Regions from separate parts of the Homo sapiens genome. Here all the other regions are linked to region 3. Evidence: promoter capture Hi-C in human tissues and cell types (Jung and others, 2019). All regions are on one chromosome and are shown on one strand. The core of a region is centred on a gene start or on the middle of the fragment in contact, and the rest is flanking DNA. Distances in the headings are between cores, read along the strand shown. Region 1 overlaps BBS9 (Bardet-Biedl syndrome 9). Region 2 overlaps BBS9 (Bardet-Biedl syndrome 9). Region 3 holds the start of BMPER (BMP binding endothelial regulator). Region 4 overlaps BBS9 (Bardet-Biedl syndrome 9).

The links. Contacts are between HindIII fragments. The study calls those that stand out against the background at their distance.
Region 1: a contact is called between a fragment that was not itself captured here and the fragment with the promoter of BMPER in region 3, in 1 of the 25 tissues and cell types used here (spleen).
Region 2: a contact is called between a fragment that was not itself captured here and the fragment with the promoter of BMPER in region 3, in 3 of the 25 tissues and cell types used here (aorta, dorsolateral prefrontal cortex and mesenchymal stem cells).
Region 4: a contact is called between a fragment that was not itself captured here and the fragment with the promoter of BMPER in region 3, in 1 of the 25 tissues and cell types used here (dorsolateral prefrontal cortex).

Annotation. Positions count from the first base shown.
Region 1 is chr7:33,588,366-33,591,382 of GRCh38, reverse strand. All of the region lies in intron 21 of BBS9 (Bardet-Biedl syndrome 9), which reads right to left. Among named protein-coding and RNA genes, the nearest start is that of FLJ20712, 140 kb to the left of the region's middle. The HindIII fragment of the contact is 7,459 bases long and covers 1-3,017 here.
Region 2 is chr7:33,489,274-33,492,431 of GRCh38, reverse strand. All of the region lies in intron 19 of BBS9 (Bardet-Biedl syndrome 9), which reads right to left. Among named protein-coding and RNA genes, the nearest start is that of FLJ20712, 240 kb to the left of the region's middle. The HindIII fragment of the contact is 4,233 bases long and covers 1-3,158 here.
Region 3 is chr7:33,903,986-33,906,944 of GRCh38, reverse strand. It overlaps BMPER (BMP binding endothelial regulator), which reads right to left and starts at 1,406. Exons shown (of 15, transcript NM_001365308.1): 1 at 1,199-1,406; 2 at 42-127. The coding sequence starts at 1,331. The HindIII fragment of the contact is 7,840 bases long and covers 1-2,959 here.
Region 4 is chr7:33,561,654-33,564,838 of GRCh38, reverse strand. All of the region lies in intron 21 of BBS9 (Bardet-Biedl syndrome 9), which reads right to left. Among named protein-coding and RNA genes, the nearest start is that of FLJ20712, 160 kb to the left of the region's middle. The HindIII fragment of the contact is 6,844 bases long and covers 1-3,185 here.

The sequences.
Region 1 (3,017 bases), core at 145-2,644, 320 kb after region 3:
TTTAAAAAATAGTAAAATATTACATTCACATGCAAAGCCCTTTCTATTTTAGTTTCCAAATGATTCTATAGCCTGTGTGATAAACAAATCAGCTTCCCACAGGAAAATAAACATATAGAGGGAAGGAGTTAAATTTTTTTCCTCTTATGCAAAGAGTAGGTGCTTAATATTTACTTGTTGACTTAAAAAGGAATTCATGAAACTTGAGGAAATACAGCCTTTAAAAAAAAAGTCATCATTTAAGAATGTTCCACCACATCCTTCCAGGATTGTGGGCTGAGCACAGCCCACTAATGTATAGGCTAGTAAATCTAAGGAAATGACCAATCAGCTCCTGTATTCTATCCTGTTTCTCCAAAAACATAACCCATTCACTCAAGCAAATTCCTATATTATGTAAAATGAAATCTCTCTAGCTAACTGCCTGCTCTTAAAATTCTCCAGTTGCTTCAAAAGCATGGCCTCTGGAGCTAAACCGTCAGAATTTTAATCCCAGCTCCATGATTATTAGTTTTTTTTTTAAAAAAGAAAAACTATTTACTTGATCTTTCTCTGCTTCAATTTCCTTATTTGTAAAATGCAGATAATAATTATACCTAGTTCATAGGGTATTGTAAAGATTAAGTGAGTAAATGGATGTAAAGCGCTTCAAATGGTGCCTGACTCATAGTAAATGATACACAAGTGTTATAATAATAAGCATTTACAGCATCAGCATCATTTTTGCCCTATACTGCCAAATTATTCCAGTCTAAGCCTGAGATTCTCATGTAAGATGAGTGGGGAACTGAAGGTACAAAGGGTAGTAAATTTTAGGAAGACAGAGCAGCAACTATAGCTATCTAGGAACACCAATAGTTGGGTTAAATATTCAAATAAAACCTTAATTGGTTGTCTGATCTGGTAAAAAAAAAAAAAAAAAACAAAAAAACAAAAAAACAAACAGTGGCCAGTAAGAAATAACAGCTTTGTAAAGAAAGAACAAAGATTAGGGTCCAGATCAATAATAGAGGACAACAATATACATCAAATCAAGAAAAATTAACTATCTCTTGACCCCACTTTCATGCCAGCATTTTCTTCCGTTTCTTTGCTCCTCTTAGCAGCAAAGCTTCTCCGAAGAGTTCTCTATATATGCTCTTTACAACTCTTCTTTTTTCCTTTCTCTCACACATCCATCCCAGTCTAGCTTTTGCCTCTGCCACTCTACAGAAGCTGCCCAAGATCACAATGATCTTCACATGGTTCCATCAATGGGCTAATTTTCAGCTCTCAGCTGACTTGATCTGTGAGCAGCATTTGACACAGCTGATCATTCAGTCTTCCTTGAAACTTTTTTTGCTTGACTTCTAGGATACCACATTCTACTGCTTTTCCTGTTACCTCACTGCAGGCTCTTTTTCAGTATTCTTTGCTGGTTCCTTCTCTTCTCCCAAACTTCCTAAAAGTTACAATATCCAGCACTCAGTTTTTGGTCCTCATCTCTTTTCTAAACTTACTCCCTTGGTGACTTTATCCAGTCTTCTGGCTTTAAAGTAACATTTTCATGCTGACAACTCCTAATTTTGTAACTTCAGCCCAGATTTCTCTCCTGAACCCCAGATTCATACCCAACTTCTTACTTAATATCTCCACTTAGATCTCTAACAGCATCTCAAACTCAACATGTCCCAAACTTTACTCTTATCCTTCACAAACCTTTCCCATCTCACCCCACAGCCTTCCCCATCTCAACTCCACCCTTTCAGTGTCTCGAGCCAAAACTACTAGAGTCATTCTAAATTCCCTTCTTCCTCTCACATATCATGTCCATTTTGTTAGGAAATTCTATTGTTTCAACATTTGAAATATATCCAGAATAAGACCATTTCTCACCACTACTACCACTTTGGTACAATCTATCATCATCTCTTACCTGAATTACAGTAATCTGCAGTTTTGCTGTCTGCAGTTTAAGTTACCTGCAATCAACCACAGTCTGAAATATTAAATAAAAAATTCCAGAAATAATTCACAAGTTTTAAATTGCACTCTGTTTTGGGTAGTGTGATGAAATCCTGGGTCATCCTTCTCCATCCTGCATGGGACGTAACTCATCCCTTTGTTCAGCACATCCATGCTGCATATGCTGCCTGCCTGTTATTGTATAGGAAAACACAACATTTTTTCATAGTACAGGGTTCAGTACTATCTGCAGTTTCAGGCAACCACTGGGAGTCTCAGAACACATCCTCCATGGATAAGGAGGGAATTACTGTATTGCTAAATTGCTTCTCTGAGTAACCCTTAAACTGGACTGCCCATTTTTACCTCTGACCCCCACTATAGTCTATTCTCAAAAGAGTAACCCGTGATCGTTTTAAAAGGTAAAGTCATGTCATTCCTTCATTCAAAATGGCTTTCCCCATTTCACCCAGAGGAAAAGCAAATGAGCAAATGTCTGCACAAAGGCTGCACATGATCTGGTCCCTCCAGCCTCCTCTCCTACCACACCACCTCACTGTCCTCTTTGCTGTCCCTGGAACACACCAGGCCCATTCCCACTTTAGGGATGGTGCTGACCATTCCCTTTACCTGAAACACTTGTCCCTCTGATTTCTGCATGAATAATTCCCTCACCTTCTTCAAGTCTTTCTTCAAAAATTGTCTTGTGAACAAAGCCTATCCTGACCACCCAATTTGAAATTATGACCATGTGGCCCCCACCCCTTTTCTGACACACATTTTCTTTTTCTGTAACACTTAACATTAGCACTTACTACTTTCTCACATACATAGTTCACTTATTTATCATGCTTATTGCTTATTGTCTTCACTTGTGAGAATAAGAGTTCCAAAATGGCAGGGATCTCTATCTAATTTGGTGGCTACAGTATCCTAAGTCTTGGAACAGCGCTTGGCACACAACAGGCACACGATATTTAGTTGTCAACTTAAATGAATGAATTTAGGCTGAGAGATTAGGAGGAAGCAACGGAAACCAAAATCAATTCTAATTTTTACATAGTATTATCTGC
Region 2 (3,158 bases), core at 374-2,873, 410 kb after region 3:
TTAATCCCAGGAGGTCCTCGACGTCTTTAAGCTTCAGTTTTCTCCTTTGTAAGAGACAAGTAATTACGTGGCTTGAAGATTAAATGAGATACAACTTAAAATGTATTTGTCACGGTGGCTAGCACATAGGAAGCATGCAATAAAGGTTAACATTATTATTATTATTTATTATTCCCTGGCTAAACACTCAACCAAGTTTTTTTTTTGTTTTTTTTTTGTTTTTTTTTTCGAGGTGGAATCTTGCTTTGTCACCCAGGCTGGAGTGCAGTGGTGCGATCTTGGCTCACTGTAGCCTCCACCTCCCAGGTTCAAGCAATTCTCATGCCTCAGTCTCCTGAGTAGCTGGGATTATAGGCATTCGCCACCACGCCCAGCTAATTTTTTTTGTATTTTTAGTAGAGACAGAGTTTCAACATGTTGGCCAGGCTGGTCTCAAACCCCTGGCTTCAAGTGATCCACCCACCTTAGCCTCCCAAAGTGCTGAGATAACAGGCATGAGCCACCACACCCAGCCCAACATATCCTTTAATAAAGCAAAATAAAATTCAAAAAATGTCATATACCTGAAGACAATAATAACACTCCCTTTGGCCTCTTCATCTCTAGTTTATACAATCCCAATAATTTCAGTACCTCTTCATGGGATTGATTTTGTATATAAAATACTTACATTATTTACCAAAGTATGTGTCATAATCTCCACATCTTCTCTCTCAAAGCACCCTGTGTGTCCCCTTCTATTATATCCATCACATTTGGAATGACTTGCTTAATACATGTAAGCTCTGTGAAGACAGGGACTGTGTCTTGTCTTATTTACTACTGTGTCCCCAGCATAGAGCATAGGGCCTAACACACAGTAGGGCTCAACAAATATTTGTTCAATTGAACTGAATTAAATCCCATTTGGTACATCCTAGAAGGGTAGCATATTAGCTTAATATTACTAGCAGAACATTCTCTTAGAAGTAGAGCTAGTACCTAGAATACCAGTTGTGAGGCAGAGCCAATAATAGATTTCCTTAATTCCATAATGCCCTTTGCTTGTTAGGCACCTCTCCCACCCATACACCCATTTTTGATAAACACTTTAATGGTTTTCAAATCAGGATACGCCACATTTAATGTGGTAGCTTTGCTTTTTATCCTCAAAAGTTATCTAATCAATAGTGTGCTCTAAAATTAATGTCTTAGAATTCATTAAATGTATTTTTGTGTGGTATTTTGTTTGGAGTTATACCTCCCAGTGTCTTCATCCAGTTTCCAGGAAATAACTATTCTAAGAATACTCCCTGGCTACCCCTTGTGGGGCATTCTCTCCAATATACACAATGATCCCTCTCCCCATACTTCCTAGGTAGGACCTACTATAGGCCAAGCATGAGTTCCTTCATATGGTCTCTATAATGAAACTGTGCAGTGGGGCTATTAGATCTACTTTGGCTGTGACGAAACTGGTGGTTTAAGATGCTGACTGTCCACAGTCATGCAGCAAGATTCAAACCCAGGACTGGCTACCCAACAAAGCCCATGTTCTGTCACTGTCCACACCGCTTTGAAAGAACTCCACGGAGCTAGAAAATTAACTTCCACAAAGTTGTTACTTATTTTCAGATTAATTATGCTTATGACTTCAATGAAAGAAACTATGCATTCTGGGAAAGTAATAAAGTTTATTTCTTATTAATAGAATAGAAGCTAAGATCAATTTACCCTGAGAAAAAATAAAATATATGTTTATTCAATCTCTTCAAAGAGTACAAATTGAGCACCCACTGGAGTGTTAGGTGCTGCATGAACCTTAATGGAGGAAGAAATTTGGCTCAATGAGCAACTGAAACTGGGGTTAATAAACATTTGTGAGATAGTGACATTTTTCACAGTTATGAGATAATTCTTAATGACTATCTTTGAAGTGATTTTCAACTATAAAACTAGCCAAAAGATAGTTGATATCCATGTATAATTCTAATACAGATGAGAATTAAACAAAAAGGGACATGACAGCTTTGGTCCTGGCATTGATATTCTCATGTAAAGCTTCTCTGTTAAAACACACAAATAAAAAGAAAATCAAACCAGGCAGAAAAAAACAAAAAAGAAAAAGAAAAAAGATTGATCTTTTTAAAACTCAGCAAATAAAGAAAAATCTACAAACCTAAGTAAATGTGTTATGTATAAAACAGATCTTTTCTTGAAATGTCCAAATTTGGATTTGAATGGATAAGGGGCCCCTCTAAACCCATGTATTTCTTCCTTCGAAGTAGCTAAAATAGACTATATGAGGATGAGAGCATCTGTTAAGAGAGGTATGGATTACAACTAGTTTTAAAAATAACTCACTTTCTAGTTCACTTAACAAATTAAACAGGTGTCACAGTTCAAATTGGAATCCTCTAATAGAATCCATTTACTAGAAATCTGAATCCATTTTCAGAGAATAAGAACAAGATTATTATCTTACAAATAACTGATTCACACAGCCACTTTTTGTTTAAATTCTTGGTATCAATATCCAACACTGTGATAAAGAGCTGAATTTGGATAAAATAACAAGTATCACACAAACCATCCGGAGAAGAAATTTTAATTCTGGGGATAGAATACCATCTTCATAGTGGAAGCGTTCATGAGTGATAGGAAATATCACACAATAGCACGTGAAGCTTCAGGAAAGAGTTCTTTGTTTCAGTTCTCTAGGGTTTTATCCTGTGGCCATCATTTTAATTCCCCTAAAAACACCTTAGAAAATAGTGTTTAGCAATCTTCAGAAAAGTTATGATTTGATGATCAAAAATAATATTAAGAAAGATTACACAGATTATTGGGGAACTGGCCACCATAAAACTTCTGGTATATCAGAAGTTGATTCTGGCAGAATCTGAGAATGGTAAGTTGAGCAGTCTCCTCTTAGTTTACCGATATGCAGAATATTTAGATTATATCTCTAGTTTTATACCAGCTATTGCCTGAACAGAGATGAGTACACAAGGAAGGTCTTGGTCATCAACACTACTTTGATAAGTTATTAAATATCCAAGTTTTCCTTCTACCTACTGGAGAAAACTCAATTTCAGCAAAAAAAAAAAAAAAAAAAAAAGCCATAAGTGGTTATTTTTGTTTAAAGAAGTCTGTCCTGGCCGGGTGCAGTGGCTCAC
Region 3 (2,959 bases), core at 157-2,656:
AGAGAGCAGTTGAGTTCATATTACCTGATCTCCACACTTACCAAGCAGACACACATTATGCAAGGGTTGTCTGTGATAAATGGAATCTGGAGGACTTCACCTTCATTTTCACATTTTGCAACAGAACCTGAAATTCAGGGGGGAAAAATGTTTCATTTAAAGTTAGCTTAGCAGCATGATTTCAACATTTAAAATTTTTACACTAATCCTTTTTGAAACCTCTACCCAAACTTCAGAATTCTTAATGTGGTTTAAATTATTAAATTCACCAAAGCAAAACCTCTGCCCCCAACTCCATTTTCAATAATTTTATTTAAACAGGTTCAAAAAAGAAAAGACTATGATATAGGGATAAATTATCTGTTCTCAGATGGTCTAAGCACAATTCCAAGTATTTCACTGGATTTTTAATAACACTCCTCCTTTATGAAGATATTTCAACTAAGCACACAGCCCCATACGCAAAGAAAAAAATAAAAAATAAAATTTAAAAAAACCCTCAAATTGGGGCAGATTTTAAATTGACCAAAACTCAGAACTGAGTCAATAAACAGGCCTTTCTATGAATCTGTCTCGCATTGTCTTAGGTTTAAATCACTTTTTGAAACGCAATCCCCTTTTCCCTTCTCTTAGAAATTGACTCCATATTTTCTTTTCTGCACCAGGTGTCAGTAAAGTATGTCCTTCAGAATAGCAGCTGAGGTCTTCACCTGCCTGAAAACATATAATTATTATATCCGGCTATTAGTGCCCTTTTTAAATGATAGTTTCTTTAAATTCAAGGTCTTGAGAGCCAGTGCTTTAAAAAGCACTCCTAGCACAGTGGATGTATTGCAACCCCAAAGATGAGAAAGGAAGATGTGCGGAAAACTGCACAAATTTTTTTCCTGAGTTCTACAGAGGGAAAGATTAAAATAAAAGTTGAGGAAAGCATTAAAAATAAATAAAATAATTTCTCAAATTCAAATAGAAGAATGTCTATTATTACTACATTGAAGGCAACAGCCTCTCAGCCCGCAACCTCTTCACCAGCCTTCCCAGCCCTCCCGGGGCTTCGCTTCATCCCCATCGACCAGCGCAGGGCAAGCGCCAAGGTGCGCGCTCCCCACCCTCCCATCCCCGGGGCAAGCCAGCGCCACCTTTCCCAGGTACCAAACCGGCGTCCCGGAGGGCCGGTCCCTCCCGCCCCCTCCCCTACCTGTCAAGAAGGAGGAAGCCAGAGACATGGGGACCCCCGAGCAATTGAGTAGCAGCAAGACGCAGCACGTAATCCCAGGCGAGCGGCGGCAGTAACGCTCAGCCAGAGCCCCGACGCCGGAGAACCAGAGCATCGTCACCTGGAGGGAATCCCTGGCGACTGCAGGTCCCGCGCCGCCGCCTCTGCTCAGCTGCCGCAGCTCACAGTCGAAAAGGGCTCTCAGCCGGCGTGTCGGGAGACCGTCCGCGAAGGAGGGAGGCGGGCGCCCGAGAGCTGGGGGGCGGGGGGGTGTGAGGGAGGGCGGGGGGAGAGACCAAGGTGTGGGGGCGCCCGGGGAGGAGGGGTCCTGCGGCCAGGCTCCTCCGATGCGGCTTTTTTTTTTTTTTTCCTGAGGGAGTTGCTTGCAGTGGCTTAGCAGTCAGCCCCTCAGCGCCGGAGAGGGGGCCAGGAGGAAGGGGTGTTGCGGCAGCCGGAGATAGACTGAGAGGAGCTGCGGCGCTGCCGACTGCGCACTGCCGCTCAGCCGCCGCCCGGGCTGCCGCTACTGTTTCGGGGGCTGTCGCTGTCGCTGCCGCAGCGTCCTCCACTCCCGCACTCCTCACCTCCTGCCAGCCCCGCCGGCTCTCGGCCCTCCCGGAGCGCGCTCGCTCCGCCGCAACAGACGTGGGCTCACCGGGCGCCTCCCGGAACCCGCTGGGGGCGCCCGGGCGCAGGAGGGACTGCGCGATAGCTGCAGCGGGAACTCTCTCGGCCCAGCTTCCAGTTCCCCAGCCCCTCCAGGGAGGCCAGGGCCCCAGGGCGCGGACCAGAGCCGAGAAGGCGCGTCTCCACTGTCCGGGCGAGCGCGGCTCCTCCTCCCTTTCTTGGGGGAGCCCCGGGGATGCCGCAGCACTAGCGCTCAGGCCCGGGTGCCCCAATCCAGCGAGGGAGCAGCAAACGGGACGCAGGGGCGCCCCACCACCCTGCTCGCTCCCGGGTGCCCCACCTTTGGGAAGGAGCGACACACCCGGGGCAGTAGGGCCCCCGCAACTTTTCATGCCCTGCTTTGCTTCCCTCTGGCGGGGGCGCGACAGCGAACTCAGGGGGCTGAGCGGACAGAGGGGCAAGTGGCCTTAGAGATGTGTTCTGTGCTTAGCTGTCTGCGCGTCCTGACACTAGGGATGACCGAAGTTGAAACACACACAAGGTCGATTTAAAAACGTACCGAGGCAAACGCCTTTCGTCCTTAAAAAATGAACAGTCGCTCCGAGACTCCTCCCTTCCAATCTCGGGCGGACCGGGGCGGGGAGGTGGTGTTTGACTAATCATTCATTCACCCGAAAAGAGGGAGGAACCCCCGCCCCACCGCTCATCTCTGGCGGGGGCCGCCGCGCGGCGGCCTCTGCAGCTCGGAGCTCCGTCGCTCTCTCAGCCCGGCTGCGCCCTCTCGCCTCTGCAGCACTGGGTGTCGGGGAGTCAGCTCCTGTGATCCCCCTGCTGAATCGCCGCCTCCTCCCCACGCAGTGGCACCCTCTACTCAAAAGGGGTGCAATCGCAGAGAGATGATTTTTGTAACCAAAGTACGAAGGCGCGAGGTGGGAGTGAGGGACGCTTGGCAAGTGTTGGGACCTGACGATCAGCTAGCTGTCCTTGAGCTCACGGTGGACTACCGACTTCCTCTGTCCAAGAGTTGAAACCGGGTCCCCACGGAACGGACCTAAGGGTCTCCAGGCAAAGTGGGTTGTTTCCATTGTGGAAACTACAGCTTTGAAAATAAATGAG
Region 4 (3,185 bases), core at 161-2,660, 340 kb after region 3:
CCCAGCAATGAATTCAGTTTTTGGAGAAACAGGCTGGATCTGCTTTCAATCTCAAATGCCTGGTAAGGCAACATAGAAATATTTGTGAGATTGTTGTTATTCTCATCACAGAATGAGCACACATTACATTTTCACCTCTTTTCCAGAAGAAATGGATCAGGGCTTTAAAGTGACAGCCAAGAATTTATGTAATCTTCTATCGCAGTTTCAGAACATCTGACGCAAAAAAAAGAATAAATCACCTTTCCATTATAATAATCAGAATAAAACGAAAAGTCATCGTGAATTGAACATTTCCCATGGGCTAGGTCCTATGCTAAGTGTCTTCCATGCATTATCTTGATCAGTCCTTACAACACTACTATGGTCTCAGATAAGGAGACTAAGGCCCAGAAAGGTTAAGTTACTTACTCAAAATCACATGGCAACGTAAGTGATAGGCTAGAATACAAATCCAGGTCAGCCTGTCTCCATATATAATGCCCCTGAAATATAACACATCATTTCCAACTAATTATTTGTTGTTTGTGTTGTATTAAAATCCCTTCCAATGTCAAACATGCAAGACGAATTACAGGTGAGTTACAACTATGGTGATGAGGGTGCCATGGGTGGATAGTGTAAGAATAGGTCTATAGCAGATAAATTACACTATAATGTAACTAAGATAAAATAAATAAGATATCTCTCCTCTCTCTCCAATTTGCCAATAAAACAAAGAAGGGGAGGTGATAGCTCAAAAGAAGACAATCTTCATCTTTAAAGCAAGATTCAGTAACATAATGAAATTTTTTTTAAAGAATTGATGAATTCCAGGCAAGATTTTTAGAAAATCTTTCAAAGCTAAAATGAATAAAGCATAAGTTCCAGTAAGTATGTGGTCTTATCGGCAGCAATATACAGAGATCTGCAGTCTTAAGTTAGCTGCTTTCTCAGAAACTCTGATCATGCAATAAGGCCTGCTGTAAACACTGTTCAAAGAAGCTCGCACTTCGCATCTCATGACTTTGTTTTAGCGCCGAATGCAGATTGGCACAGATACTATATTGCAGTCATACTCAGACATTCCTTCCCTCGACCATCACTTACAATACACATTGCAGCTACAGTGACCCCATACGTGCAACTCAACAGGAATAGAGGATTGAGTTATTCACCTGAGAATCAATTTTACACCAGACTAGAATAAAAAGTTGCTTTTGAAATGCGTAAAAGAGGCCAAAAATACACACTATTTCTTTGGCAGCAAAAGCACCACACTATCTTCATGCTAAGATAGAGAGTAGTTGTACAATAGGCCATAACAAAGTTATCAAAATTCAATTTTCTAATCAAATGTCCTTATTTCGGATCAGAATGACATCAGAAATAGCTCAAATAGAACTGCTTTTTCAGTATAGACTTTACCTCCTGTGTCAGTGGAGATCGTAAATTCTTTTAAAAGCAATCTCTTAGAATGATGGCCATAGTTGTTTGTGAAACAAAACAACTGTTACTAATCCTAACAATAAACCCATTTCCAGATCCCAGGTTCCAGTGGTCTTGACCTTGGTTTAAAGTTGAAGTGAAATGCATAGATGTCTTAAAACTGGGAACATAAATCAGACTGAGTGCCTACACATATTCTAGCAAATCCTTTATTTGATTATTATCTGAACTTATCCTTTTGACACCAGAGATGACTCAACACATCTGGAGTACTGTTTTGACAGTACTTCTGATTTACACTCCTAGACCCATTGCAATCTGTAGGCTTTAGCAATATAAATTTTAAAAATACACTCTATAATAATAATTATACCTATACTCTCCATTGCATCAACATGACATCAATATGTCATCAAAATGAGCATTTCTTGGTTTTGTAAAAATATGTTAAGAATGGTCTCCTTTCTCTTTTTCTTTTTTTTTCTTTTGAGATGGAGTCTTGCTTTGTCACCAGCCTGGAGTGCAGTGGCACAATCCCGGCTCACTACGACTTCCACCTCCTGGGTTCAAGTGATTCTTCTGCCTCAGCTTCCCGAGTAGCTGGGACTACAGGCGCGTGCCACCATGCCCGGCTAATTTTTGTATTTTTAGTAGAGACGGGGTTTCACCATGTTGGCCAGGATGGTCTCGATCTCCTGACCTCGTGGTCCACCCACCTCGGCCTCTCAAAGTGCTGGGATTATAGGCATGAGCCACCGCGCCCAGCCTCCTTTCCCTTTTCTATGGCTTCTGTCACTACATTTCCAAGCGATTTGGCTTTTTCAGCTTTCACAGGTTAGCTGTTTCAAGTTCAGTTTAGGATTTGGGGCTGTACCATATAATAAGGCACCTCCTTGACCTAGCGGAAGCCAATTAATTAAATTTGGGGGAAGAAGGAATTCTATTTTGTCTGCAGATTGAAACTTTAGTCAAATGGTGCCTTTTCAGAGAAGCAGGAGAAAAGAATATTTCATTTCCTTTTGAGTAGCTGTTGTTAATTTTGAATAGTCCTAGGTTACAGACATGCACATTTAAAAAGAAATATCTCCTTAAGGAATCCCCCAAAAGTGATTATTACCATATATGTTTTTTATCACTTTGTTGTATATACCACAGAGACTTCACAGTCCACCAGCCATACATTTCAATTTCATCCTTTGATTTTCAATGGTAAATCTAAGGGTCAACTAGTCTTTCTTTGAAATGCCCTATATGGCACAGTTATAGGAAAGGCAGAGTATCATTAATACAATCTTCAATTAATAGAATAAAACATACTACTACTTATATTCCTACTTTGAAATTGAAGTTACTTTGAAATTTCAATGGCAACTCTATTTTCAGCCCAGGATTATTCCTAAAAGGTCAGACTACATAGAATTGTTAAGGGGTAAAATTAATAACGACTATTTTTCAAGAAAGAAAAGACTATTGTTGGTAACATGTCTATGTAATATCTTTGAATCAATAACATAAAGTACATAGCCATCAGTGGAAAATACTGCTGTACTTGTATTACAAATTCAAATCACTGTTCTTATTCTGGAATTTTCAGCTGGTTTAATTTTAATAAGAAATCTTACCATGACATTGTCCTGTTGGAAGATCACAAATTAAAGCATTTTTCCTTCTTCATACTTGATCAGATCTGTTTCTTCCTGTTCTTCTTTTCTCTTGTTCTAGTTTTTGACTCCGTTTAATTCTCATTCACACTTTTA